2 separate regions of the Homo sapiens genome follow, and region 1 is linked to region 2. The links are contacts of gene promoters, found by promoter capture Hi-C in human tissues and cell types (Jung and others, 2019). All regions are on one chromosome and are shown on one strand. The core of a region is centred on a gene start or on the middle of the fragment in contact, and the rest is flanking DNA. Distances in the headings are between cores, read along the strand shown. Region 1 overlaps LOC102723752 (a long non-coding RNA gene). Region 2 holds the start of GHR (growth hormone receptor).

Region 1 (3,212 bases), core at 424-2,923, 550 kb before region 2:
GGTAATCTCTAGATCAATATTTGCATTATTCAGGTGTTAAAAGATTATACATTATTAATTATTTCCCAGATGCTATCTTAGTCCATTCTTGCTGCTACAACAAAATATCTTAGGCTGGGTAAGTTACAAGAAGAAATGTATTTCTCACAGTTCTGGAGGCTGGAAAGTCCAAGATCAAGGCACCAGCATATTGAATATGTTAAATTAAATTAAATTTGGCCAAAAGCTGCTTCCATACTTTGGAATTCTGCATAGCAAACTGCACCTAAGTTAGTGTTTAAATAAACCTTACTTAAGAGTATGTTCTTGTAACAGATAGCTGAGTCTCAGCTAATTACAGCAGCCAGGTTTCATCCAATCACATACTACCAACTAATAAGACCATGTCCACATAAGGCAAATGCCACATTGCATTGTGCCCAAATAAGGCAAATGCTGGGCCATAATCAATCAAGCTGTTTCTGTACCTCAATTCCTCTTTCTGCCTATAAATACTGCCTGCTCACATTGCTGAGTGGGGCTTTCTGAACCTCTACTGGTTCAGAGTGCTGCCTGATTCATGAATTGTTCTTTGCTCAAATAAACTCTGCTAAAGTTAATTTGTCTAAAGTTTTTCTTTTAACAAGGGTCTGATGAGAGCCTGTTCCTCATAGATTATACCTTCTCTGTGTCCTCACATAATGGAAGGGGCAGAAGACATAAACAGTTCCCTTGTACCTCTTCTATAAGGGCACTAGTCACATTCATGAGCTCTCATGATTTAATCACTCTGAAAAGCCCCATATCTTAATACTATCACACTGGCAATTAAGTGTCAACATATGAATTTGGGGAGGACACATTCAAACCACAGCAGGTGCTTTGGTTACTGAAAACATAAAGTAAACTGAAAAATTTACTTAATAAACTGAAAAAAATAAGGCAAGATTCAAACCCTGGACCATATGTTATTAAAAGCTGCTATTTCTTTATACCTCCCTCTTTCTGAGATATCTTTGAATCTTACCCCAACTCTCCAGTTTCACTCATTCTGCACTACTTCAGGGCCTCAGTTTCAGTTTCTCTCATCTGAATTATTTCAGTTTCCTTCCAAATGAATTTCCATTCTCCCTCAATTTAAACATACTTAAAATTATTATTTCAAATACAGGATCTGGTCTTCTCACATCTTTTTCTAAAATATTTCAAGAAATGCTCAAAGGCTGCAAGTGAAGTCCAACATTCAATTATAGGCAAGATTTTGTTTAATCTAGCCTCAACAAATCATGTGGCCTTAAGGGCTCTGCAGAGGTACTTCAGGGGCTATGCAAACATTATATTTTGAAATTAAATTTTAGATTACATTTTTACTATTCTATCAACACTAACAAAAGGAGCATGCACACTCAATTGTGATCTATCTTTGATTTAAAAGTATTAAAAATTACCAGATTGTGGCTGGGCATGGTGGCTCACACCTGTAATCCCAGCACATTGGGAAGCAAAGGTGGGCAGATCACCTGAGGTTAGGAGTTCCAGACCAGCCTGGCCAACATGGTGAAACCCCATCTCTACTAAAAATAAAAAATTAGCCTGGCATATGGCACATGTACTCCAAGCTACTCTGGAGTCTGAGGCAGGAGAATCACTTGAACCTGGGAGATGAAGGTTGCAGCGAGCTGAGATTGCACCATGTACTCCAGCCTGGGTGACAGAGCGAGATTCCATCTCAAAAAAAAAAACAAAAAACAAAAAAAAAAAAACAGACCAGATTGTGCAGTTGGGAGACAAACCTTAGATTAAAGGTTCCTCATCATCAAATTTCCTATATTTGAATATATAAAATATGTCATTGATAAAGATGTTTGTAGCTCTGTATTTATCTTTTTATCATTTAGACCTCTGCATTTTGACTCACTTAAATTTATATAAGTATATAATACTTTGAGGCTCTGGTCAGAGACATGTACTGCCTAGAATTATTTCTTATCACAGCATTGTAGTTGTTCAAAAAGAGCATATAAAACACTTCATGATAATATTGTACTATAAATAGTTTTAGAGATTATTTTCCATTTTGGCTACATCTTGTCTGACATTTACATATGTGAACAAGAGGTAATTGACATTATTAGTTATTGACCACTGAAGCAAACATTTCCTGCTACTTTTCTTTCAAGCTTCTGATCTACTTTAATTGAAGCATATACTGAAATTCTGGGACAAGCTGCAGTGTGAATCAGAACTTTCTTATTATTGTGCAGCCAAACAGAAATAAAATAAGCAAAATATCAGATATAACTCCATGGCTGCAATATTTAGCTTCTCCGAAGAGCTTCATTATTCTCATTTTTTCCATGTATAACAGGAAAATATTTCACAATTAAAATGATAAAATGCATTTAAACTGTAAAGTACCACTTTTACACATTGTATATGTTGGGTTCTAAATACAATTTTATTTGAAAGGGTGACTCATATTAAATATGTTTGAAAATTATGGCTTTAGCTAAATTCGACTACTTTCTGCTCCCTGCACATACCAAGCACCTTCTGACAGGGAGCCTTTGCTAAAGCCTTTTTTTCTGTGCCAGCTGAGCAAACTCCTACTCCTCTTTCAAGACTCAGATCAAATGTCACTCCTCTGTGTACCTTGACTGTTCACACTCCGAATTCCACCTCTTAAAAAACTATATTCTTTTACTTTGTGCTCTCAGGGCCCTTGGTCACCTGGATTATGAGCTTATTAAGTTTTGTTCATTTTTGTATCTATAGTGTCCTAGGATTTCTTTTAAGCATAGAGCAGTTCAACAAATATCAGTTGTGTTGACTTGACTTGGGTAACCCTTTTTTGCTGCCTTAATACAAGCCATGAACTTAACCTGTGTCTCTCAGCTCAGCTCTTTAAATTGAATACTTTCTTTCTAATCATGATGTGATAGTAGTAATTATTTACATTTTCATTGTCTTTTACAGCTTACTTTGTGCTCACCATCATCCTTTGGCCTTTCTTCTCTAACACAGTTCCTGTATCCAGCCTCATGCTTTGCTGTGCCTGTAACTGTCTTCTCCCCACAGATAACCTGTCATTGAAGTACATGAAGAAAATAGTCAAATAGTGAGTTACAAATTGTACTTCCCTCTTTCAAATGGTCCCTGTTTCCCTCATTATTATTTTCTTCCCTTGTGAATATTCCATTTGGTTAAATCTTTTTCACAATAAAGTAACCCAA
Region 2 (3,672 bases), core at 1,173-3,672:
ATACCCAGTTGTTAGCCTGGAGCTCTGTGGAGAGATCTGGGTTAGAGATATAAATCCAAGAGATACAACTTTTCATTCAATTTGATTATTTATTGGACGCTTTATAAACTCTGTAAATACTGGGCACTAACCTAGACATTGCAGGTACAGATATTAAGAATATATAGTTTCTCCCTCAGAAATCTCTTAATTAATGAGAAAAGCAGACATGTCAACAAAACTGCAATATTTAATAAAAGAAGATATAAAGGCCTATAAAGGTGCTGATACAGGGAGAATTAATTAATTCCACCCTGGGGAATAGTCAGGAAGACCTTCAGAGAGAAAGTAAACAATTGATTGGAACTTTAAGATTAAGAAGGATTTCTCTGGGTGGACAAAGTAGGATCTTCCAAGCAGAGTGGAAACCATGAGCAAATGCAGTTTCATTCTTCAGAAGGTAAATGTGCTCTGGCATGCCTTAACTTATAACAAATTAATCAACTCAATACCTGCTACATTTTCCCTCACAATTTGGAATATATAAAGAGGCACATACTACTATGGACCAATACCTGGTCATATATGAGATTGAAGGACCTTTACTTACGAGGCTTAAAAATAAAGACTGCCCTTCATGTCAGTTGCAGGTTTATATCTAGTTCTATAGTATTAACTGAGGTGTCTTTTCCTATGTTTTCTGTGCATGATGACTTTTTAAAAATCAAAGACAGAGCAGCAGCCAGAGTAGTCTAGTTTCATGGCACACAGAATGGAGGATATTGCTGAACCCAGATTTAAAAAAAAAAAGAAGTCAATTCTTATTTTTTTAAGTATGGCCCTGAGCTCATCTCAGAGCATAAACAATAGAATTTAGAATATCTTTTATGACTCCGTCTGGCACCTCCTAAACTAGATCAAGATTCTCTAGCTCAGGGAAGAAGGGCAAAGGATGAGAAGGCACAGAGAGGATATAAACAGAGAGGTTGGTAGTGCCAGGCTCTGAAGAAGGTCCAACTTGGAAGGTCATTTCAGACAGGCGTGGAGTCAGCATTTGAGGCCTGTCTGGTCTCTACTCCTGCCAGGACTACCCTGTCAGCCAGCTTGGCAGGTATGGACCACCCAGCAGGAGTTTTTCTTGACTGTGCCCTAATCTTTTACTTTCCCAAGTTTCTCTATATGGGTACCTCCCCTTTTAAAAGCTCCAGACACAGCCAAGCACCACTATTGCTCCAGCAAAGTATGAAGCCCCAGAAATCAATGGTTTGGGGAAGAGTCTTAGGGGAACTAAATGCCTCCTTATTTTTAGATGCCATAGAACAAGAGCAGTTCAGGATCAATAACCATCCCACCCCATGATAAAACACGCCCCTTCCAGAATCTTTCCTTTTTCGTTCATTCTAGGTGTCTGTCTGGAACAGCTGGGGTATTTGAGCCACAGCTGAGCTTCTGAAAGCATTCTAAGGAACAGTTTTTCACTTATCTGATTCCTTTGAAAATAGGGGTATCTTATGTGATATCTGCTATCCCAGAGTCTTTGGTCCTCTGTTCCTTCTCAAGTCTTGGCTCCCGTGTACTACTTCAAAGCCCTATAGATATTTTATTCTAAAGAAAAGAAACTTGGTTCCTTTAAGTTGTTTAAACATTTCTTTCTGGGTATAAACTTGGGTTTGTGTCTGGGAGCTCTGTTAAAAAAAAAAAGTCTTTAGTAAGCCAAAGCTGTTAGAAGCTTATAAGTAAGTGACATTACAATTGACCGTCAGTAAATAGTGGAAAGATTGCATGACTAGCTACTCCTTCAGATCTGAGACAACCTGGAGCTAGATTTTTGTACTCTCTACTCAGAAAAGCATATAGTGACTTGGGGTTTGATGCTGTACAAAAATGACATGCTTATGCACAACTTTAACTTTCTGCAACACTTTTACAACTTCTTGTGAATGAAGTAGGCAGGGCTCGCATTTGACAGATGAGCTATGTCCAGCGTGAGGCAGAGTTAAAACCCTTTTCCTGGCTCAGGAACTTCAGGCTGGGGCCTGTGTCTGCTCTCCCTGCATCCCTGTCCTCTAGCAGATACCTCTCTGCTAACATGCTGAGTGTCCTTGGTAAATTACTCATTCTCTCTGTCTCCGTCTTCTAACCTCCACAATAAAGTCCTTCGTAGTTTTAACTATCTTTTCACTGTGCCCCAGTGAGCAGGAGTTTGGAACTTGATTGTTGATGGAAAGGCAATATTTGGATGGCTAAACACGCTTTCCAAGGTATCTCGCTGATCTTCCTCTCATTCCTGGAGATAGCTAACCTTTTTGTAAGTGTTTCTTTGAGTCTGTGGACTGCACTTAACGCTCTTGTAGGTCCTGCTTTCATTTGGAACGGGCAGGCGGAGAGGAAGGAAGTGTATTGCAACTACCAATATTTTCCTCTAGGAGGAGCCGCGCAGCTCAGTTGAGAGTGACACGCACCAACTCCAGCTCCTCGCCGGGAAGACTTCATCCCAGCAACTCGGAATGCTTGGCCCGGGCGGCACTCGGCCTCTCCGCAGCAGTTCTCGAACTGGCCTCCTTGAACGTCCGCTTCGCCTTCGCTTCTGCAACCTGGATCTGGGGGACTGCGGGCCAGGCGCGGCGTGACCCCTGGTGAACGGTGGCCGCCTTTTCCCACCCCTGCCCTCCCATCCTCCCTTCCCGTTTCACCCCGCCCCCTCTCTCCTCCCCAAGCCTGACAGCCCGCGAGCTGCCAAGCAGGGCGCAGCCATGGGAAGAGGAGGAGGGCTAGGGAGCGGCGGCGGCGGCGGCAGCGGCAGCAGCAGCTGCTACAGTGGCGGTGGCGGCGGCGGCTGCTGCTGAGCCCGGGCGGCGGCGGGGACCCCGGGCTGGGGCCACGCGGGCCGGAGGCCCCGGCACCATTGGCCCCAGCGCAGACGCGAACCCGCGCTCTCTGATCAGAGGCGAAGCTCGGAGGTACTGGAGTGGGGCTCCGGGAGTCTGGCTTTATTTTCCTCCTGTTGTGCCAGGGGGCCTGAGGGTGAACCCTGGGACTCTAGTTGTTTATGAAAACGGGAGGATCTGTCTTATATATTTACACGGATAATTTTTTATTCCGGATGACTTGGCTGTGCTCCCCTCCTCCTTGCGAAGAAGTTGTTTTCTGCTGGTGGGTTGTTGTAACCCAATCTAGTGTGTGTGTGTGTGTGTGTGTGTGTGTGTGTGTGTGTGTGTGTGTGTCTGGAAGTTGGTGAGGGCGGCAGGGAGTTGCGGGCGACAGACGAACCATCACACTCTGGCGTCTGCTCTGGCCCGCGAGTAGTGTACGTGGAGGGGTTTACTCCGGAGACAGTTTTGTTAAAGTCATAAAAGTTTTGCTAGTGTGTTTCTGTTTGCCATCATCTGCCTGGCTGCGGCAGGAACTGCCGAGGCTGCTGCTGTTGCGCGGGGAAGAATCCCCGGCAGCGCGACTGGAGAGACTGGGGAGGTCGAGCTGTGCGCGTGGACACAGCGCGCAGAGCGCGCGGTCTTTTGCGCGTTTGTGCGGGCCGCAGCCGCACGTTGGCACCGATGGAACTGGGGTCAGTAGAGTGACAGCCACCAGTCCGCATGAACTGGGGTAAGTGGAAATTGTGGCGAGCCGACCTCCCCCAGCTTTTGACACACTAGTGGTTGTAAAATCAACCAGGCTTAAAGTTTTGACAGAACT

Evidence for each region. The method cuts DNA at HindIII sites, captures the fragments that hold promoters and counts their contacts. A contact is called where the count stands out against the background at its distance.
Region 1: a contact is called between a fragment that was not itself captured here and the fragment with the promoter of GHR in region 2, in 1 of the 25 tissues and cell types used here (heart left ventricle).

Annotation. Positions count from the first base shown.
Region 1 is chr5:41,874,299-41,877,510 of GRCh38, forward strand. LOC102723752 (a long non-coding RNA gene) reads left to right here. Exons shown (of 3, transcript XR_925956.4): 2 at 2,956-3,097. Among named protein-coding and RNA genes, the nearest start is that of OXCT1, 5.5 kb to the left of the region's middle. The HindIII fragment of the contact is 7,449 bases long and covers 1-3,212 here.
Region 2 is chr5:42,421,017-42,424,688 of GRCh38, forward strand. GHR (growth hormone receptor) reads left to right here and starts at 2,423. Exons shown (of 10, transcript NM_000163.5): 1 at 2,423-2,939. RefSeq lists promoters at 1,706-2,791, 2,215-2,787, 2,397-2,497, 2,695-3,463, 3,116-3,463 and 1 more, cis regulatory regions at 1,706-2,214, 2,552-2,592 and an enhancer at 2,419-2,568. The HindIII fragment of the contact is 10,174 bases long and covers 355-3,672 here.